Linked DNA regions of Homo sapiens: regions 2, 3, 4, 5, 6 and 7 are each linked to region 1. The links are contacts of gene promoters, found by promoter capture Hi-C in blood cells and fetal thymus (Javierre and others, 2016). All regions are on one chromosome and are shown on one strand. The core of a region is centred on a gene start or on the middle of the fragment in contact, and the rest is flanking DNA. Distances in the headings are between cores, read along the strand shown. Region 1 holds the start of RAB13 (RAB13, member RAS oncogene family). Region 2 has its middle 4.9 kb from the start of S100A3. Region 3 holds the start of ILF2 (interleukin enhancer binding factor 2). Region 4 holds the start of S100A6 (S100 calcium binding protein A6). Region 5 has its middle 8.3 kb from the start of S100A2. Region 6 has its middle 8.9 kb from the start of S100A16. Region 7 has its middle 36 kb from the start of S100A6.

Evidence for each region. The method cuts DNA at HindIII sites, captures the fragments that hold promoters and counts their contacts. A CHiCAGO score of 5 or more calls a contact.
Region 2: a contact is called between a fragment that was not itself captured here and the fragment with the promoter of RAB13 in region 1, in 4 of 17 cell types (naive B cells, M0 macrophages, total B cells and 1 more). The highest score is 6.8, in naive B cells.
Region 3: the fragment with the promoter of ILF2 here is called in contact with the fragment with the promoter of RAB13 in region 1 in 17 of 17 cell types (M2 macrophages, naive B cells, M0 macrophages and 14 more); the score reaches 22.5 in M2 macrophages.
Region 4: the fragment with the promoter of S100A6 here is called in contact with the fragment with the promoter of RAB13 in region 1 in 1 of 17 cell types (neutrophils); the score reaches 6.4 in neutrophils.
Region 5: a fragment that was not itself captured here is called in contact with the fragment with the promoter of RAB13 in region 1 in 10 of 17 cell types (total B cells, naive B cells, M0 macrophages and 7 more); the score reaches 13.4 in total B cells.
Region 6: a contact is called between a fragment that was not itself captured here and the fragment with the promoter of RAB13 in region 1, in 2 of 17 cell types (total B cells and naive B cells). The highest score is 6.3, in total B cells.
Region 7: a contact is called between a fragment that was not itself captured here and the fragment with the promoter of RAB13 in region 1, in 1 of 17 cell types (total B cells). The highest score is 5.3, in total B cells.

The regions. Positions count from the first base shown.
Region 1 is chr1:153,984,779-153,987,778 of GRCh38, reverse strand. RAB13 (RAB13, member RAS oncogene family) reads left to right here and starts at 1,440. Exons shown (of 8, transcript NM_002870.5): 1 at 1,440-1,666; 2 at 2,998-3,000. The coding sequence starts at 1,543. RefSeq lists a silencer at 1,356-1,525 and enhancers at 1,337-1,838, 2,152-2,381. The HindIII fragment of the contact is 17,219 bases long and covers 1-3,000 here.
Region 2 is chr1:153,552,815-153,555,546 of GRCh38, reverse strand. No RefSeq gene overlaps it. Among named protein-coding and RNA genes, the nearest start is that of S100A3, 4.9 kb to the right of the region's middle. The HindIII fragment of the contact is 6,930 bases long and covers 1-2,732 here.
Region 3 is chr1:153,669,715-153,672,553 of GRCh38, reverse strand. It overlaps ILF2 (interleukin enhancer binding factor 2), which reads left to right and starts at 1,561. Exons shown (of 14, transcript NM_004515.4): 1 at 1,561-1,636; 2 at 2,324-2,383; 3 at 2,676-2,718. The coding sequence starts at 1,632. TRX-CAT1-1 (tRNA-iMet (anticodon CAT) 1-1) reads right to left here and starts at 1,304; the gene lies at 1,233-1,304. RefSeq lists enhancers at 292-341, 352-431, 982-1,121 and a silencer at 1,162-1,541. The HindIII fragment of the contact is 12,664 bases long and covers 1-2,839 here.
Region 4 is chr1:153,534,345-153,537,472 of GRCh38, reverse strand. S100A6 (S100 calcium binding protein A6) reads left to right here and starts at 1,482. Exons shown (of 3, transcript NM_014624.4): 1 at 1,482-1,524; 2 at 2,113-2,271; 3 at 2,643-2,874. The coding sequence starts at 2,134. The coding sequence ends at 2,777. It overlaps S100A5 (S100 calcium binding protein A5), which reads left to right. Exons shown (of 3, transcript NM_001394232.1): 3 at 37-326. The coding sequence ends at 177. LOC124904423 (a long non-coding RNA gene) reads right to left here. Exons shown (of 2, transcript XR_007066630.1): 2 at 1-2,569. RefSeq lists an enhancer at 857-1,492. The HindIII fragment of the contact is 28,060 bases long and covers 1-3,128 here.
Region 5 is chr1:153,572,608-153,575,701 of GRCh38, reverse strand. No RefSeq gene overlaps it. Among named protein-coding and RNA genes, the nearest start is that of S100A2, 8.3 kb to the right of the region's middle. RefSeq lists enhancers at 1-433, 434-1,214, 2,829-2,918. The HindIII fragment of the contact is 6,913 bases long and covers 1-3,094 here.
Region 6 is chr1:153,602,771-153,605,701 of GRCh38, reverse strand. No RefSeq gene overlaps it. Among named protein-coding and RNA genes, the nearest start is that of S100A16, 8.9 kb to the left of the region's middle. RefSeq lists an enhancer at 1-672. The HindIII fragment of the contact is 400 bases long and covers 1,214-1,613 here.
Region 7 is chr1:153,498,698-153,501,619 of GRCh38, reverse strand. It overlaps the pseudogene RN7SL44P. Among named protein-coding and RNA genes, the nearest start is that of S100A6, 36 kb to the left of the region's middle. The HindIII fragment of the contact is 2,671 bases long and covers 45-2,715 here.

The DNA.
Region 1 (3,000 bases), core at 191-2,690:
TTTTGTCGAAGCAGTCTCACTATGTTGCCCAAGCTGGTCTTGAACTCCTGGGCTTAAGGGATCCTCTCACGTTGGCCTCCCAAAGTGCTGGGATTACAAGTGTGAGCCACCGCAACAGGTCTTAGATAATATTTTCTTTCTTTCGTGTTTCGTATTTTTTTCCACCCCCAGCACACATATAGCAAGAATAATTTTTTTCTAAAGGCAGAGATAAACTTGTTTCTCTTTTACTCTCTTTCTTTCTTTCTTTTTTTTTTTTTTTTGAGACGGAGTCTGGCTCTGTCGCCCAAGCTGGAGTGCAGTGGCGCAATCTCGGCTCACTGCAAGCTCTGCCTCCCGGGTTCACGCCATTCTCCTGCCTCAGCCTCCCAAGTGGCTAGGACTACAGTCGCCTGCCACCACGCCCGGCTAATTTTGTGTGTGTGTGTGTATTTTTAGTAGAGATGGGGTTTCACCATGTTAGCCAGGATGGTCTCGATCTCCTGACCTCGTGATCCGCCCGCCTCGGCCTCCCAAAGTGCTGGGATTACAGGCGTGAGCCACCGCGCCCGGCAAACTTGTTTCTTTATACCCGTGCTGTTCATATTTCAGCTTCCTGGTTACCAAGGCTACACATTCATGGCCTATTGAGTGAGATTTCAGGAGTACTGCACCTTAAGTGGGCCATATTAAAAGATTCACGTAAAGAATGACATTTTTAGTTCAAATCTCTGTTTTCCTAAGCTATTTGGTCAGAGAAATCACACATGGGTCCCCATAAGAGAGATCGTTCCAACTGAAGCCCCAGGATGTGTCTAGGTAGGCTGTGTGTGTTGGGGTGGTGGGGCCGATTCTGTATAACTAATTTACGTTTTCACCCTGTTCCACCAGGGGGCAGACTGACTCAACAAATAACCTACTTCTGCGCATCCCGCTTTTTTCAAAGTGAATTGGGACCCATAGAACTAAGGGCTTGGACAACTAACAGTAAAATTCTAGGACTGCCTTTTACTCAGCCCCAGAAACCGATGATAACTCATCTTCTAGCTTCGTTGAATAGCATCTCCAAAACTCAGCCCCATTTTTTTTTTTCAATTTCTAGTGCTCTCCCTACCTTCACCCTTATTCCCAAAACTCTTGGTTCTCTTCCCCTAATCCCTCTAAAATTTCTCTTCTAAAATTTCTGGTCGTCGTGGTTAAACCTCTACTTCCCTTCACCCCAGCCTCTCTGGCCTCAGAATGGAAGAGTAAGGTCCTAAGAGGGGAGCTACAATTACCGAAAGGCTGTGGAAAATAGCGAGAGAGACAGGCCGGCCTAAGCTAGGAAGGGAAAACCGAGAGAACAGAGGCCGGGCTGGCAGCCTTGGCCTGCTCAAAAGGGTGGGCGGGCAGGGGGTGGAGCCCGGAGGGGTGCCGCCTCTCCTCTTTCCCGGAGCCTGGGCGGAGAGGGAGGAAAACTTCTTCCTGGCCTGGGCTCCGTGCCGCTCTGTTTGCCAACCGTCCAGTCCCGCCTACCAGTGCCGGGCGCTCCCCACCCCTCCCCCGGCTCCCCCGGTGTCCGCCATGGCCAAAGCCTACGACCACCTCTTCAAGTTGCTGCTGATCGGGGACTCGGGGGTGGGCAAGACTTGTCTGATCATTCGCTTTGCAGAGGACAACTTCAACAACACTTACATCTCCACCATCGGTGAGCCCGCTGGCCATGTCCCAGACCCCGACTCTCCTGTGACCTCCTTCTCCGGCTCCCGGATTACTAGTGACCCCACTTTTCAGTCCCCTTAGAGTAAGGCTCCTAAATTCTAGTCCCTCAACCCCTGGCTCTGACCCTTCCCCCGTGCATGTCTCTGTATAGTAACCAAACCTCTCACCTCTCTGAGGCCTTCAGGTAACTCTTCAACTGCTGCCAGCTCCTCATTTTCTTGGTACCATCGCCTTAGTCTCCCCAAATCCACAAGAACTCTTCTCTATTTTTCTCTGTTCCCCTCTTCCCCTACCCCCACCACCTAGAACTCTCTCGATCCTATCTCCATGTTTCCTGTATCCCTGTCCGCCACATCTTTTTCTCCCGATCCGATGCTAGCCTCTTTCTGTCTTGCTGAGCTTCAAACTCTCCCACTGTGTCCCCACCTCACCATCTACTTCCCAGGTTCCCTGCCCCAGTCTCCCTGCACCTCAGCTGAACAAGGGTTTGGGAAGGGTGGAACAAGGTGGCTGGGTGTGCTGGAGGGTGGCCCAAGGACTGTGATCATGAATATGCAGCCAGCTTGGTGAGGAACGTGGAAATGAGGGGACTTTTGGGGTCTCTGAGTCAGCCTGGTGACTCATCCTCCTCCCAGGGGCCCCCAGCAGGCTTGGGGGAGGTGCCCAAGTTTCTACTAAGAAGAACATTGTCTCCCCTCCTCCCTTCTCTTCTTTCTTCATCTCCTCTGGCTTGGGAAATAGACAGGAAGAGTCTCACGACAATTCTGGTTACAAAGGAAAAGGAAAAATGCCCCTCTTTCCTAATTGTCTCAAAAGTAATCCTGTTTAGCCTCAGACTTTCCTAGTGCCAAGTTTGGCCCACTAGTTAATTCACATAGACTGGCTTCAGCTACTTTTTTCCTTACTCTCTACTAGGAGGGTAGGTGGGATACCAAGAGTAGAGGGCTCTAAGAAAACAGAGAAGAGGAATGTGAAAGTAATATCTGGGGGGAGACAGAGACTGAATTCAGAGAGTTGTCAGCTGGTATAACTGAATGGACCCAAGAGGCAGCCTAAGGATTTTAAGCCTCCATGCAGAATTTTCGTCACCTTTTCCCTCCCAAAATCCATAAAATGTACGTAAAAATAGTATTCTTGCTATACAAATACAGCTTTGGGAAAATTCTCCTAGCTTGGCATTTCCAACAAGATTGTTCCCCAAGTGCCTCCCCTGCAGAATTTCTGGTGCCAGCACTGCTCCGTTCCTGTCCCTTCCATCACACAGTTTTACATGTGTGCATGCATGTCTCAACTTCAGTGCATACCTTCCACCCCTAGGAA
Region 2 (2,732 bases), core at 172-2,671, 430 kb after region 1:
TTTCCTGAATTTTTTTTTTTTTTCTGAGATGGAGTCTCATTCTGTCGCCCAGGCTGGAGTGCAGTGGTGCGATCTCGGCGCACTGCAAGCTCTGCCTCCAGGGTTCACGCCATTCTCCTGCCTCAGCCTCCCGAGTAGCTGGGACTACAGGCGCCCGCCACCATGCCCGGCTAATTTTTTTGTATTTTTAGTAGAGACGGGGCTTCACCGTGTTAGCCAGGATGGTCTCGATCTCCTGACCTCGTGATCCGCCCGCCTCGGCCTCCCAAAGTGCTAGGATTACAGGCGTGAGCCCCCATGCCTGGCCTGAACTGTTTTTTTACTTACTTGGGAAATCGATCTTTGAGAACCACTTCCAGAGTAGCTCAGATAGGGTCCCCAGAGACAGAAAAGGCCAAGTGAGAAGGCGCTGGGACAATTGCTTGTTCTCACTTATGATTCTGCCTTGACTGCACATCTGGGGCTGGCGAGGCAAGGCGGAGCAGGCCTTCAATGATACATGGTCTCTTTTCATAGCAATAAAAAGAGAGAAGCCCACCTTCCTAATATCCTGTAGGAAAGGGAGCCAGTAACTATAGGTCAGGGAATCATGATGATGGTAATTAACATTTCTGTAGCAGTTCTCAGAGTTCCTTTCATGCACACTGTAATTTCAGCCTCATGGTAACCCCGAGAGGAGCTATCATTAGGCCGTTTTTACAGATGAGGAAACTGAGAGGGAGCAGCATCTGTCATTTGTGGAGCACTCCCTCCAGCTAGGCACTCTGCTGGTCTATTCAAGTGTCATCTCATTTAATCCTCGGGGCAACTGGGTGAGAGCAGAGCTATGCTATTAGTTTCTGCACGTCACAGACAAGGAAACAGAGGCTGGGAGAGGTTAAATAAGGAGTAGCGTCAGGACTTGACCCATGTCTTAAGAAAGGTCCTCATCCCTGTGGACACTAGGGTGGCAGTCCGGGCCTTCCTCCCCTTCCCACAGCCATCTCCAAAGCCTGGGGCTTTGTGTAAGGTGAAAGGGACCTGGATGAGCAGCATCCAGACTCTCAGTGTCCCTATCCTGAGTCACTGGGGGAAGCAGGCCCACTTGCTCCTGGTGGATTAGTGCAGTCTGGTTTCTTTTGGGCCTTAGGCTCACAACAATTCCTGGCTTCTCTTGGCTCAGGTTCTGGGGCTGTTTTGGCTGGTGGAGACTAGCCTCAGCTGGCTGCCCTTGGAGCTGGGCAGGTTCTGAAAGAGGCTGATTTCCTTTCCTTCTGGGCATTTGACAAACTAACAAACACCACTTTCCCAGATGGTTCCGGCAATCTTCCCTTATCCCCTTTCCTCTCCCCAAATCTCTGTGCAGAGGCACAGAGGAGGAGAGTCTAGAAATAGCTCTGTTCAAAAGTTTGTTGGGCCAGTTGTCTCCCACTTCCTCCTAGAGCTGCTGCTGGAGGAGAGCCTCAGGAACACATACCTCACCCTGCATCCTGCCCTACTGTCACTTTGGCATTTGCTGTTTCGCATTAATCCCTGGCAGCCTATTAACCCTCCAGGAAAGGACAGAATGAAGGCAAAGCTGGGCTCTGAGACAAGGGACTGGCTGAAATAGGGCCCCCATGCCCTTGTCTTTAGGTCACTTGATCTCTCCACTGACTCACTGCTCTCATCTATGAATTGGTCACAATCAGTCAATGACTTGGCAGTCAAAAGAAGTAGTAGGTCTAAGTAATAGGTCCACAGGCCTCTTTGATCTCAGTTCAGATCCTCTTCCCATCTCCCCAGGCCCAGTCCCCAATTCTGTAGCAAAGGCCTTCCTGGCTCTACACCAGTCCCAGTCATCAAATACCCCTTCCTACACCTTCCCTATATTTGGCTCAGATGATGAGAAAGGAAGCTAATCATTTTGACAAGGTTCGTTGGTCCCATGGGGCTATGGGATTGGGGTGGGTTCACCCTGTCTCTGGGGCCCAGGCCCTTTTGGCACAAGCATGTGGGATATCCAGATGCTCAGGACAATTTATCTTGTTCTTCCCCGAGGTTCAGAACCAGACACTGACCTTCAGGGAGGCGGTGCAGTTTCCAAGGGCGTATGGTGATAGTGGTGATATTGGGGCGACAGAGCCAGGGAGAATGGGTGCAGGGGAGAGAGAGTCAGTGCTATAATAAGTCCTGCCAGATCAGATAGTGTCAGCTCTCACCCTTCATGCACCCACACGCGTTGCCCCTACGGGGAGAGAGCTCCTTGCCCTCCAAATATGGTGCATTTCTCAGTGGTCAGCTCCACATCTGCAGTGGGGGCGGGGGAGGCGGCTCTGGAAGGTGAGCAGCAAGGGTCCTGGGCTCAGCCCGAGCATGAACAATTGAGTGTGTGGACACTGGACGGGGTGTGGGAGGAGGACGGTCCCTCTCCAGGCCTTGGAGGGGCGGTTCATGTGGGATGCATTCGGAACCACTGCAGAAAGGGAGATTCAGGGGAGATGCTGGGGAAGAACTTCCAGCAGGGCAGAGAGTCCAATCATCCCAAGAAGAGTTTGTGAAAGCAAGGGAAGGGAAGTTACAGCTCTCCCCTCCACCTGCATGGAGGAGGCAGGACCAAGTGAACTGTTGGGGAGAGGCTGGTTCTTTCCCTCCCCTCCCGCCCTCCCTGAAGCCCCACTGAGGTGACTCAGTGCATGTTTGTTGAATTGGACTCAGAGGCCTCTGCCCTGACATTGTCCACAGTGACAGCGAGTGATAGAAAGCGCTTTCAT
Region 3 (2,839 bases), core at 312-2,811, 320 kb after region 1:
TAGCTCGGAGTGGTGTGGCCTGTGCCTTTGAGTAGTCCCAACTACTAGGGAGGCCGAAATGGGAGAGTCTCTTGAGGCCAGGAGGTTGAGGCTGCAGTGAGCTATGATGGTGCACCACTGCACTCCAGCCTGGGCAACAGAGTGAGACCCTGTGTCTAAATAAAATGAAATAATAGAAGAGAGGGTAAGAGACAAAGAGATTACTGGGGGAAAAGTCTAACCCGTCTTTATTTGGAGTTCAGGAACGAGGGAAATAATAGGTAAAACTAATACTTGAAGAGATAATAGCTGATAAATTTAATAAATGGACGACAAACCTGAAGCCATTGATTCAAGAAGCTCAACAAACCTCAAGTAAGATTTTTTTTTTTTTAAACGGAGTCTCCCTCTATCGCCCAGGCTGGGGTGCAGTGGCGCCATCTCAGCTCACTGCAACCTCCGCCTCCCGGATTCAAGAGATTCTCCTGCCTCAGCCTCCTGAGTAACTGGAATTACAGGCGCCCGCCAGCACGCCGGCTAATTTTTGTATTTTTAGTAGAGACGGAGTTTCACCATGTTGGCCAGGCTGATCTCGAACTCCTGACCTCGGGTGATCCACCCGTCTCGGCCTCCCACAGTGCTGGGTGGCCACAAGCCACCGCACTCGGTCCGCTTTTTGTTTGCTTGTTTTTTAAAAATTAATAATATTTATTTTAATCTGGATGGTGGTTACGTGGCCAGAATACGTTTAGACTTAAGATGTTTACGTTCTGCTGTAGTAAATTAAATATCGAAAAAGTACTTATGGAAGGGAGGTAGGTGAGGGATAAAAGTCTACAAGTTGGGTTCAGTGTATACTGCTCGGGTGATGAGTGCACCAAAATCTCACAAATCACCACTAAAGAATTTATGTAACCAAGCTGGGCGCTGTGGCTCACGCCGGTAATCCCAGCACTTTCGGAAGCTGAGGCGGGTGGATCACCTGTTTCCATGGACATGGAAAACCATGTTTTCCACACTAATTCAATCAATATACTCCTCTCCTATCTAAAACCTGTTTCTCCTGCTTCGAGTTTGTAGACGTGCAGTGTTCATAGTTGCCTAAACTCCCTTTTCCCCATCAACTTCAACTGCTAGTGGCAAAAATAGCTGATATTGGTTGCATTTTTGAGGTAGGAAAATTGGCAAGATATTTTCCTTCACTAAAGAAACGTAGATTACGTATGCCGTACAGGGCAATGAAAAAACTCCGATAGCAGAGGATGGTTTCGATCCATCGACCTCTGGGTTATGGGCCCAGCACGCTTCCGCTGCGCCACTCTGCTATCTAGAACTAAAATTTCTCATGATTGTTATAGAACACTACGTAGTCGTTGTCCTGACTTCTTTAGTGCCACCTAATGTCTGATCAAAAATTCGTCATTACTATAGAACCAGTTCTTATTGGCTAGTTCCTGACACAGTAGGCGTTTTTTATTGGTTCATAAGCCCGGTTTGACAAAGTAAGCCAATAGGCATAAGCGATGGGGTAAGGCGGGAGCCAATCGCACCGGGTTTTATTGGGACACGCCGGCAAGACGCCTCTTCAGTTGTCTGCTACTCAGAGGAAGGGGCGGTTGGTGCGGCCTCCATTGTTCGTGTTTTAAGGCGCCATGAGGTAAGTGGGTCGAAGCGGTCGAAAGGTTTCAGGTATTCGACGGAAAACTTTGTGAACGTGGGCCGAAAGAAGTCGGAGTATCAGAAAGGGCCATGTATCCGGGGGCTGGCCAAAAACCTGAGAACTCCTGGTCTAGGATAGTGGGAGAGATGGAGGCCGGTAGAGGCGGGGAAACTTGGGCCCGGGATGGGGTTCGGGCCCAGGAGTGGGGAGGGGGGTTCGACACCTTTGTCTCTGAAGGGTTGCGATGAGGGGGTGTCCTCAAGCCCCTGGAGGAGCTCCCCACCTTTCCCCCGCCCCCGTCATCCGGGCTGAGAATGCTGGAGCGAGCCGCATTCATCCTCAGTGCGAAGGCCTTGACATTAGGACACGCCCGATAAATGTGTACCTTAGTGAAGAAATGAGCAATCTTTAGCCTCCGAAGTATTAGGATTCGTGTGGCCCAGGATTATGGGTTATTAAGTGTAGGGCTCACTGAGCCCCATCATTACTTGATGGGGGTTGGATTAACTTAGAGGAGGTTATGGGGGTGTAACTGGGCACCATTTGGAATGGGGACAAGTGTAAGTGTGAGTGGGGTCTCTTGCCTACCGTTGGGAGGTTCCGAGGGATGAAAGTAGCCAACCTAAGATGATATGGCCGGTGGGTATTCCTTCAATGAGGTCAAAATAAAATCTGCATTTCTAGGGGTGACAGAGGCCGTGGTCGTGGTGGGCGCTTTGGTTCCAGAGGAGGCCCAGGAGGAGGGTGAGTACCAGCTTTTAGCATCTCTGCACTTGGTTGTTAGTTTCTGCTTGTCATCTAAATAGGAGTTTTAGAGTAGACTAATGTCACTTGGTTTTGCGAGAGCCAACTGTGGTCTTTTCCTGCACTCCTGTTAAATGAATTTGGCCCCACTATGCTAAGAATGATTCTTTCCCTCCCCGGAGACTTTGTCACTCATTCTGAGGACTGACATGTTTTCAAAATTGTTGGCGTGTTATTTACATCTCGCTTGATTCCTACCTAGGGAATAATTTGGCTGTTTTTCATGTTTTAGGTTCAGGCCCTTTGTACCACATATCCCATTTGACTTCTATTTGGTGAGTACCTTGGGTTAATGATACACATTTTCTGGTCACTGTTGAAATGGAGCCCAGTATCTCCCAGTTAATGAAGTTAGATGGTGGTTGAAGAGGGCAGACACAGTGCCTCACGCCTGTA
Region 4 (3,128 bases), core at 233-2,732, 450 kb after region 1:
GGGTCTGAGCTGTCTCTCCACCTGGGTCCACAAAAGATGAAGGAGAGCAGCATCGATGACTTGATGAAGAGCCTGGACAAGAACAGCGACCAGGAGATCGACTTCAAGGAGTACTCGGTGTTCCTGACCATGCTGTGCATGGCCTACAACGACTTCTTTCTAGAGGACAACAAGTGACCAGGGCTGCCCTCCACCCTCACCCTCCACCCTTTGCTGCTGACCTCGGCTGCTCCTCTCACAGACCCTCTTTGGCCCCCTGCCCTCCTCTCCCTCCCAGATGGACCCTTCCATGGGAGGAAATAAAGTTTCCATCGCAGGTGCTGGGAGTCTGGTTTTGAAGCTGTCTTGTCTACCTTGGCCTGGGGAGAGGGGAGCACAGGAAGGGTCTCTCCTTGAGTGGGTTGAGACAGCTTCTGCCTCTGGGGGTTAGGGTCCTGGGCTCCCACTGCATTCCTCTCCTTCTTTGGTGTGGACGTCATTGGTTTTGTCATGGCTTAGTTTTGCCTGCCTGGAAAATGGGGAAGTTAGGCCAGGCGGGAACTCTGCAAGGATGCAGAGGAAGTTAAGAGGGAAAGTTGCTTTGAGAGGAGGACACTGGGAGGGGTTGGGAGTGGCTCCTGAGGGCGGTGATAGGCAGGCAGGCCTGACTTGTCCACAGCTCACCGGAGGCCACCTTGGCAGCACCTGTAGGAAGGGCATGTCTGGCCTCCACACCAGCCCCCTCCCTCTTCACCATTTCCCCTTCAATAGCACCACTCTCATCATCTATGGGGGACAGTGCTTTCTTCTCTCCCTGCCTCCTCCATCAAAATCTTTTCTCAGGGGAGGGTCTGAAAAGGCCTTCACTCCCCCGTAAATAACGAATGGTGCTTACAGGGCTGGGCTCCCACGTGCATGCACATTAACACCAAAGGTGCTGTAGTGAATGGAATTTGGGGCACTGAGGGGAAGGAGTGGAGGTGTTGGTAGGAACTTGTTGCTGGTGGGGGATGGGCGCCGTAGATATCCTTTACACCACTGGCTACTCCCCCTATCTCCTCTGGGGTGACCCTGAGTATCCTCTGTGGGACACCGGCATCCTGTGAGGCGCCCTCCTTGCCCACATTGACGCTGCGCTGGCTCGAGGGTCACATTCACGGTCTGGCAGAGGAAGCAGGGGTGACCGCCGCAGTCCTCCTCCTGCTCCCCTTGCCGAGTCACGTGTCACGAAGAGCAAACTGAGCAAACTGAGCTGCGCAGATGAGGGGAGACTCGTCACCAGGCGTGCAGTGGGCACTGCTGGGCTCCCCCATCCCGTCCTAACCCGGAACAGCCCCGGGCAGGAGGCGTGGAAAGTCGAGGGGGTAAACCGCGAATGTGCGTTGTGTAAGCCACGGCGCAGGGTGGGGCGCGGGCGGGACTTGGGCGGGCGGGGTGGGCTTGGCCGAGCTGGCCTCCGGGGCACCGACCGCTATAAGGCCAGTCGGACTGCGACACAGCCCATCCCCTCGACCGCTCGCGTCGCATTTGGCCGCCTCCCTACCGGTGAGTTCTCTCCAGGAGCCCTGGGTACTTTCCAGGGCCAGCTGCCCTCACGCTGGGGGTCCAGCCATCCCCTGCCCAGTTCAGCCGCTGGATCCAGACTGGGGCCATCTGTGGCGCTCCCCCGCTGGAGGGATAGTCAGGAGCAGCAGTGCTGTGCCAGGCAGGCCTTGGGCTAAGGGATCGCAATGGGGTGTGCTCTTTTGGGGTGCGGAAGGGAGTGCCCTGGGTGTGTCATTGCCACCATGTGTGGCCCTGTGAAGCTGTGTTTAAGCTGCCTTTGCAGCCTCCATTCCCCTCCCCTGCCCAGCCATACTCCTCAACTTCTGGATCCCCTGAAGGACAGTTCTCAGCTGTGCCCAAAGCTACTGTTCCTATATGCTTCTTAGAATCCTTAAGCCACCTCTCTTGCCTTGGCCCTAGTGTGCTCTCTCCTTCCCCTTCAAGCCCTGGGCTGTCTCCTGATGCCATTGTGTGTGGCCTGAGACTGGGTGGTTCCAAAGGAGGCGGGGCTAGTGCAGGCAGCATTATTGGGGTGTGTGGGTGAGAAGTCCTTGCTCCCATGGCACTGACTAGGCCCTCTGCTGCCAGCTCCAAGCCCAGCCCTCAGCCATGGCATGCCCCCTGGATCAGGCCATTGGCCTCCTCGTGGCCATCTTCCACAAGTACTCCGGCAGGGAGGGTGACAAGCACACCCTGAGCAAGAAGGAGCTGAAGGAGCTGATCCAGAAGGAGCTCACCATTGGCTCGGTGAGTGGCCTCCTCCCCAGGACCCCTTTTCCCACCCTTGTCCTTTGGAAGCAGGATTAGGGGAGAGAGAGGTGCCAGGTGCATCTGACTCACATTTACCCACATTCTGAGGCCCTGGTCCACATGTAGACCCTGAGCTGTAGACCCACTCTCCCAGCGGGTAGGGGATGCTTCCAGCCGGATATCCATCTCTCCAAATGAGGACCAGTAACTGAGAAGTAGCTGAGGAGAAGCAATGCCAAAGTGACATGGGTCCTTGGTGATGAGGGAGCACAGAGCCACTTGCAGAGAGGATTGCCTGGGAGGGGGAAGGGGAAGAATCCAGGGTTGTCATCACCACTGAGTATGGATTTCACATTCTAACACATTAGAAGCTGCAGGATGCTGAAATTGCAAGGCTGATGGAAGACTTGGACCGGAACAAGGACCAGGAGGTGAACTTCCAGGAGTATGTCACCTTCCTGGGGGCCTTGGCTTTGATCTACAATGAAGCCCTCAAGGGCTGAAAATAAATAGGGAAGATGGAGACACCCTCTGGGGGTCCTCTCTGAGTCAAATCCAGTGGTGGGTAATTGTACAATAAATTTTTTTTGGTCAAATTTACCCTTGCGTCCTGGCTTCCGAATGATTTCTGTTCCTCCTTGGCTTAGTGGGACACCAGCCATTGGAAGATTTGCTCACGGTCAACCTCTGAAAATGACTCATTGACTCGCCAGGCCAGAGGACCCACCCTGACAAGGCTGCCTCTAGCACATAAGGTGCCTTTATGTGAATGAGGAGAGATGCCCCTCTTGGCAACGCCATCCTAAGGAAAGGCTCAAGTGGTTTCCAGTAGAGAGAGTCCTGGGATGAGCTTG
Region 5 (3,094 bases), core at 429-2,928, 410 kb after region 1:
ACACAGCACATGTTTCAGAGAGCACCGGGTTGGGGTGTAAGGTCATAGATCAACAGCATCCCAAGGCAGAAGAATTTTTCTTAGTACAGAACAAAATGGAGTCTCCTATGTCTACTTCTTTCTACACAGACACAGCAACAATCTGATTTCTCTATCTTTTCCCCACATTTCCCCCTTTTCTATTCGACAAAACCGTCATCGTCATCATGGCCCGTTCTCAATGAGCTGTTGGGAACACCTCCCAGACGGGGTGGCGGCCGGGGAGAGGGACTCCTCACTTCCCAGAAGGGGCGGCCGGGCAGAGGCGCCCCCCACCTCCCGGACGGGACGGCTGGCCGGCCGGGGGCTGACCCCCCACCTCCCTCCCAGACGGGGCGGCTTGACGGGCGGGGGCTGCCCCCTCACCTCCTGGACGGGACGGCTGCCGGGCGGAGACGCTCCTCACTTCCCAGACGGGGCGGCTGCCGGGTGGAGGGGCTCCTCACTTCTCAGACGGGGCGGCTGCTGGGCGGAGGGGCTCCTCACTTCTCAGATAGGGTGGCCGGGCAGAGACGCTCCTCACCTCCCAGACGGGGTCGCGGCCGGGCAGAGGTGCTCCTCACATCCCAAACGGGGCGGTGGGGCAGTGGCGCTCCCCACATCTCAGATGATGGGCGGCCGGGCAGAGACGCTCCTCACTTCCTAGACGGGATGGCGGCCGGGAAGAGGCGCTCCTCACTTCCCAGACTGGGCAGCCAGGCAGAGGGGCTCCTCACGTCCCAGATGATGAGCAGCCAGGCAGAGACGCTCCTCACTTCCCAGACAGGGTGGCGGCCGGGCAGAGGCTGCAATCTCGGCACTTTGGGAGGCCAAGGCAGGCGGCTGGGAGGTGGAGGTTGTAGCGAGCCGAGATCATGCCACTGCACTCCAGCCTGGGCAACATTGAGCACTGAGTGAATGAGACTCCATCTGCAATCCCAGCACCTTGGGAGGCCGAGGCTGGCAGATCACTTCTGGTTAGGAGCTGGAGACCAGCCCGGCCAACACAGCGAAACCCCGTCTCCACCAAAAAAATACGAAAACCAGTCAGGCGTGGCGGCGCGCGCCTGCAATCGCAGGCACTGGGCAGGTTGAGGCAGGAGAATCAGGCAGGGAGGTTGCAGTGAGCAGAGATGGCGGCAGTACAGTCCAGCTTCGGCTGGGCATCAGAGGGAGACTGTGGAAAGGGGAGAGGGAGAGGGAGGGGGAGGGGGAGGGGGAGAGCCAGTTTCTTATTTTGAAATGGGGGGAAGCATTGAACTGGATCAAGCAAGCTGTCATCAAAGTCCATTACTTTTGAAGCTAGACTTAGATGTTTTACCAATTATAATGAGAAAAATATGGGCATTTCCAAACTAGGAGAAATAATGTAGCAAATTAACAGATTATTCTCAATTTTAAGGTTTTCTTTACTATTTTTCTTAAACTAACACCTGATACTTTCAGATGACAAAAAGTGGGCTCAAAGGATAAATAAATATTGACAGGAAAACCAGGAGTAGATCATGATCCCTGTATTTTAGTGGATGTGGGGTTTGGTCATGGTTCTATGTTGCTGATACATCAGATGGCCCCATCTTGGCCATGACACTGGCTCTAAGTATATGTTAGTTTCTTTTTCTTTTCTTTTCTTTTTTTTTTTTTTCCGAGACAGAGTCTTGCTCTGTCATCCAGGCTGGAGTGCAGTGGCATGATCTCTGCTCACTGCAACCTCCGTCTCCTGGGTTCAAGTGATTCTTCTGCCTCAGCCTCCTGAGTAGCTGGGATTACAGGCGTGTGCTACCATGCCGGCTAATTTTTGTATTTTTAGTAGAGTTGGGGTTTCACCATGTTGGCCAGACTAGTCTCAAACTCCTGACCTTGTGATCCACCCGCCTCGGCCTCCCAAAGTGCTGGGATTACAGGCGTGAGCCACCACGCCCGGCCCACAGTTTCTTCTTCTATTGATACATGTAATAACACTCACTGAGTCCTCCCTATACTTTACATACATACAAATGTGTTATCTCATTTGATAGGTGAAGTGGGCAATAGTATTCCCATGTTACAGAAGAGGAAACTGATGCTCAGGAAAAGGTTAAGTAACGTTTGTAAGGTTACATGGTGAGTGTAGTAACTGTGGTAACTTGCTTCCTATTTTTAGTAAGAGACCCTTGACCACACTGGCAAATCATAGCACTCCGTCTCCCTGGCAACAGAAATTGGCCCATGGCTAAGTATATGAGACAAGCAGGGCCAATCAGCGCTCTTCTCTGGATTAATATATAGATAATGGGTTTACAAAGCTGGAGCAGTCTGTGGCCACATTCCTCATTATTTGGAGAGGCTCTGCTATGCTATACTAAGGGTGATGCCCACATGCAAAAAGACACAAACAGCATGAGAGAAGAATGGATGGATGGATGGTGTTGAGTTCCTCATTCTGGTCCCCATGGCTGTGGTTTATTGATCCTGTGAATTATCACAGTGACCTTAATGCGATGTAACACAATACACCACATTTTTACTTTGGTGAGCTTGAATTAAACTTCTGTCTCTTTTAGCTGAAAGATCTTGATTGACAGAATTAGAATATGGTGGAGTCAAGATTCAAATCCAGAATCCAAAGTCTTAATTCCTTTGCAATAACCATTTCCTAGTATTACATATTGATCTCCAAAAATGTCTTTCTTTAAACCACTTCCTCATGAGCAACACACTATAATATTACAAATCACCACCCACTCTCCTGAGTCACTTTTCTTTTTCTGAAGCTGCCCTTAGTCCCTTTCTAAGATTTAGAAAGTAACTTGGATTTATCAGAACACAGAATGCATCTCTCAAGTTGGGTGTTTCTGGGAAGACTGTGAATCACCCTGATTTATGTTGATCCCTGTTAGCACCAGTTTCAGTTTTACCAAGTGACATTGTTCCTTCTTGGTCCTCTATGCTGGCAAATAGTGGAGCCTGGCTTCAGACTCAAGCCTGCCTTATACCCAGGCCTATGCCCTTGCCAGGACAGCAGCGGCCTCTAGCTGTGGGAAACCATGAGGAGCTGGCAGGCCAGGGTGGAAATATCCTGTGTTCTCGAGCCAGG
Region 6 (2,931 bases), core at 164-2,663, 380 kb after region 1:
TCCCAGCTACTCGGGAGGCTGAGGCCAGAGAATCGCTTGAACCCAGGAGGCGGAGGTTGTGGTGAGCCAAGATCGCACCATTGCACTCCAGCCTGGGCGACAAGAGCAAAACTCCGTCTCAAAAAAAAAGAAAAAGAAACAAAACAAAAAACTTCCCAAGGACCCAAGGACCCATTTTCCTCTCTATCTGCCTAAAATAATTTCTTAATAACTCCTACAACATTCCCCCCTGTGGAGATGCCACACTAACTGCTGTTAGGGAGTTTTGGGCGACGACTCCTTCTGGCTACTTCTTGTTGCAAAAGGGCGTCGAATGGGGAAGAGCAGCTAGGGCTCCTCCTGGGGTCAATCTAAGGGTCCTCAGAAGAATGATGTGTCTATGTGTGGTTCTGTTTACAGCACCATTTGGAGTTTGATTGCTTCTAGATGAGAAGAAACAATTTGAGTTATAGTATTGTGTATACAGGGTCCAAATATCAATACAAGACACATAAGCAAGAGAGGGCTTAATAAAGGGGTTAACCAATTCCATAAAGAAGACTGGAATTTATTAAAGAGGCATTGTAGCCACTCGGGGATCAATAATTTTGATTTGATTTTTAAGTACTTGTAGATTTTCTTTTAACTAGAGGCATTAATCCGAAAGCAGCATGTTTCATTGAAAACTGCATCACTAAACCCAATAAAAAGTCCTAGCAGATTCAGTGGTAGTAAAACTTTTATGCTTCCTTTTCATTAGTAGCTATTATCCCTGCTATAAGGATAATGATTAAGCAAAATATGACAGCAATGGAAACTCTCTGTTTAATATTTCAGTTAGAAGGTGCTACCATGTATAATCCTATTGCAAATAATAGAGTGAGTATAGCTATTTCCATAAGTGTGGTGTGGTAGATAATTTCCATCTAAACTTTTACCTGTCAAGATATAGAATTCCCCTTTGGGGGTCTATGAAGTTCCTTGGTTTTATTTTCCTAAACGAAGAAACCTCTGGGTTATGGGCACCCTACTCACTTTTATTACCTGGTAGAATTTGCAGAATAATTGCCCAGAACTAATATATTGATTCAGATTTTATATTACCCATCCCTTAATTTTTCTTCCAAGCTGCAGGAGATCACTGCTTGATTCACAGGAATAAGCAGGGTTAGTCTAAAATGTAGGCGAAAAGCTTGAAAACAAAAACAAAAAACAAAAAAATGTATGATAAGCTTTGGAGCACAATTTTTCTCTCTAGTCCTCGTTCTTGGTAAAAACAAGTTATGAATAAACTGTAGTCTTATACTTGCCCTGATTATTTGCATAAAGTGCAGCAAGAATGGTTATTTGTACACAGGCCTTTTGATTGGCTTTGATGAAACTCTGTTTCACAAGGAATTTCAGATAAGACTATTAAAGCCTAAAGTTTGTATTTGAGGATACAAACCTCAAATACCTGTTAGTTGGGTGATCCTCTCCTCTTGAGGTCCCAAGATAAACTCGGAGCTCCCAGACGTGTTAAAAAATGACATTCTTTACTGACTACAGATTAGGAACCCTGTCCAGAGACTGTGTAGACAAGGTATGAGGCCAGTTCTCCCAAAGCGGCTTTTATTGGCTCTGCTTGTCAAGCTTGATTCAGATAGTTTCCAAATTCTAGAGGAACCAGGCAGAGAAATAAACATGCTCCAAATTTTGTTCATAGGAGTACACCTTACTCAATTATTAAAGGCCACAAATAGCTTAAAATAAGTTTCCTTGACTCAGTCTGATGAACGAATTTCCTTTCCTGGCCAACGCACTAAAATGATACGGCTCTGATGAGTGGAGGAACACCAGGGTTCTTGGTGCTCATGCCAGTTTAGATAAAACGACATGGACACACGTGGAGTGGTTTTAAGGAGCGGAGAGTTTAATAGGCAAGAGGGACAAGAAGGAAGGGAGAAGGAAGAAGCTCCCCTATACAGAGACAGAGGGAGGGGGGCTCCAAAGCCAAGAGAGGGAACCCCCATGACCCTTAGTCTTGAGCCATGAGTGGCACTGAGGCTCTGAATTCTCATTAGTAGACTATCCCGATACAGACAGAAGTTGTGGGATGGAGAAGTAGAGGTGCAAGGAAGAAGGAGTGTGGGAGGCCAGGTGGAATGGAAGCCATGACTTGCAGCTGCTGGAGGGGACATTGCCAGTTCCTTGGTTTCTCCCCTGCTCTTGCACTGAGGGAGATCCCAGTAGGAAACCCACCCTGCAGAACTGGGCATCAGCAGTTTTTAAATGGGAACAGCTTAAGACTTTCCAAAAAGATGCACAGGCACAATAGTTTTATTGGCATCCACTTACAGATCCTCAGCCTTCTAAAATTGATCTGCCCTGGAACAGGGTGGCACTCAAGGTGTTGTACTGTTCCTCCTTTCCCACCCCCAGTAGCTGGGATTACAGGCTGGCGCCACCACACTCAGCTAATTTTTGTATTTTTAGTAGAGAAGGGGTTTCACTATGTTGGCCAGGCTGGTCTCAAACTCCTGGCCTCAAGAGATCCACCTGCCTCAGCCTCCCAAAGTGCTGGGATTACAGGCATGAGCTGCCGTGCCCGGCCTACTATGCTACCTTGACTGAATGATAAAGAATGAGTTAACATGTCTTGTTGGTGGCGGGGGGAGGGGGGTGGTTCTATCTATCTATCCATCCATCCATCTATGTATCTATCAATCTATCATCTATTTATCTACTTACCTATCTACCTATCTGCTATCTATCTATCATCTATCTATCTATCTATCTATCTATCTATCTATCTATCTATCGCTATCTGTCAACTGGTAAAAAAGACACAAATTTACCTCTTTTTTTAGTGTGCATTACAGTATTGTTAACCGTATATACATTGTACAAAAGATCTCCAGAACTTTTTCATCTTGCACGACTGTAACCCTATACCCTTTGAACAACAACTGT
Region 7 (2,922 bases), core at 131-2,630, 490 kb after region 1:
AGATCTAAATAATTGAAATATAATAATAAAATTTACTGTAAGCTTAAAAAATAATTATTTCAAGAAAAAATAAAATGAAAATACAATTAATTAGCAATAATCAGGCTGGGCCCTGTGGCTCACACCTGTAATCCCAGAACTTTGGGAGGCCGAGGTGGTAGGATCACCTGAGGTCAGGAGTTCGAGACCAGTCTGGCCAACATGGTGAAACCGCGTCTCTACTAAAATACAAAAATCAGCTGGGTGTGGTGGTGGGCACCTGTAATTCCAGCTACTCGGGAGGCGGAGGCAGGAGAATCGCTTGAACCTGGGAGGTGGAGGTTGCAGTGAGCCGATATTGTGCCACTGCATTTCAGCCTGGGCGACAGAGCGAGACTCCCTCTCAAAAAAGAAAAAAGAATTAGCAAGAATCAGAGTTTAAGTCACAAGCCATATTGCTGGACACCAGTAAGTAGCAAGCAGATTGAGAAAGAGTAAAAGTGTATTAATTTCCTCATTTTACATGAGGAGAATAAAAGGATATACATTTATTCTTAATTTTCAAGATTAGAATAATATTTGTAAAAATGTTTTTGAAAATCTTTAAAGTACATGCAGGGAAAATGGAGAGAAAAATATGTTTTCCAAATAACCAGAGCATCTGATAAAACAAAACAGGACACATAAAATGAAAGCAGAAAGCAAAGGAAAGGGTGAGGAAGTATTAAAAAGAAAAACAGGCTGGGTGTAGTGGCTCACACCTGTAATCCCAGCACTTTGGGAGGCCAAGGCGGGAGGGTCGCTTGAGGCCAGGAGTTCAAGACCAGCCTGGCCAACCAGACGGGAGACCCCGTCTGTACAAAAAATAAAAAATTAGCTGGGTGTGCTGGTGCGTGCCTATAGTTCCAGCTACTCAGGAGGCTGAAGCGGGAGGATCTCTTGGGCCTATGAGTCCTGGGCTGCAGTGCACTATGCCAATTAATTGGGTGTCCACGCTAAGTTTGACATCAATATGGTGACCTCCTGGGAGCAGGGGACAACCAGGTTGCCTAAGGAGGGTGAACTGGCCCAGGTCAGAAATGCAGCAGGTCAAAACTCCTGTGCTGATCAGTATTGGGATCACTCCTGTGAATAGCTACTGCACTCTAGCCTGGGCAATAGAGCAAGACCTGGTCTCTTAAAAAAAAGGAAAAAAAGAGAAAAGAAAATTAACTATGCTCTGTTAACTGATATACAGGTAAGTTATATGCTGTTACACATTAAATGATGCAAAATTGTATGTACAGTGTAATTCCAATTTTGTGTAAAAATGGTAACAATTTCTCTAAACTTATATGACAGCATTTCTCATATTGCTTTCTGTAGAACACTACTTTCTATGAGATGTTTGTGAATAATTGTTCCAGAAAAAGGGATCTGGTAAAACAAGGCTAGGAAAATCTAAGCAAAACCATGTAAAACCATTTCATTTTGGCAAGTCTTCTCAGTGCCTTATTGGATATTTTTTCTTTTTGGCCACCCAGCTCCTGGACCCTCATCTTCCATGTGTGGACTTTCTCGTCTCATCAGGCAGTGTCCATCTCCTACAGCAGAAGCGGATGATCCCAGTTCCTTACCTTTTCTCTTCCCTGGTGGCTTCACCAGTCGGATAGATACACCTGTCTGGGAGTTGGAGCTGGGCTGGTTACCCCCGGAAGCAGAGGTGCTGGGGAACCCTTCCTGGCAGGGGCCAGCCACATTCCTCAGTGCCCATGCCATTCAGTGTTCAGAGTGACTATGCCAAGGTCCTCACCAGGCTGTTTTGGCGGTGTGATTTTGGCATTTCTCTTTGTGTAACTTTCCTTTGTTCTTGCCCACCTTCTAAACCCTAGTTCTCTAGTCTTCTTGAATCTAGAATTATTTCAGTTTTTTGAGAATACTAGAATTTAGTGTTATTTAAGTAAAATTTTGTTCTCCTCAAATCAGTTTGAGGCAGTTTCTGCTGCTCGCATTTCTGAATATTGACTGACGCATTATTATACTAATGTGTACTGTGAATTTCTAAAAGGGAGAAATTTTCCAAAGTTATTTGTCTGTACTTTTTCCCTTTTCTTTTCTGAAAACTTATGAATCTCCTGTGAAATTAGTATGGTGCGAAACGTAAACTTATGGCTATAAAAAAGTCTGGGAGGAAATACAACAAATGAAGCATAAAGGATATTTTATTCCAAATAATGGGTTGAGGACTTGTGTTTGTGTCTCCCTTCAGAGATCCCATTAAAGGGCGACTATAAACCCATCACAGCAGAGATGATATAAGGTGGATCAGACAGTGGGTAGGAGATTTAAACATTTCCCCAAGCTGGAAAGGCAAAGGAGGTGTGCTGATGGATAAAACAGAGTGGAGGAAGCCTCAGAACAGAATATGATGCCTGCAAAGGACTGGGGAGGAGGTGGAGCTGACCTACACTTTGGAGCCCCAGAGAGACTTAGGGATGAGTTGACCATGTAGGGTGGAAATGAGAAGGGACAGGCAATGCTAGGGTTAACTGAAAGTCTGTCCAGGCACCAGCTAGGGCAGTCAAACCCTTTTCCTCTCTTTCTCATCTGCTTGCAGAGCAATAGCTGTCTAGGTCCTGCTCTTCTTTAAAAAAATTAACACATACTCTGGCTCGTTTACCTTGGCCCCCTAGAATAAAGCCTTTTCAGTTCCAGCATAAACAGCTGGTTCCTGTCAATTCACCCTCAAGTGAAGCTTGCCAGGCCATAAATGGTGTCTTTTTTTTTTTTTTTAAGACGGAATCTCACTGTCACCCAGGCTAGAGTGCAGTGGTGTGATCCTAGCCCACTGTAGCCTCAAGCTCCTGGGTTCAAACAATCCTCCTGTCTTAGCTTCCCAAGTAGTTGGGACTACAGACATGTGCTAGCACACCTGGCCAATTAAAAAAAATATTTTGTAGAGAT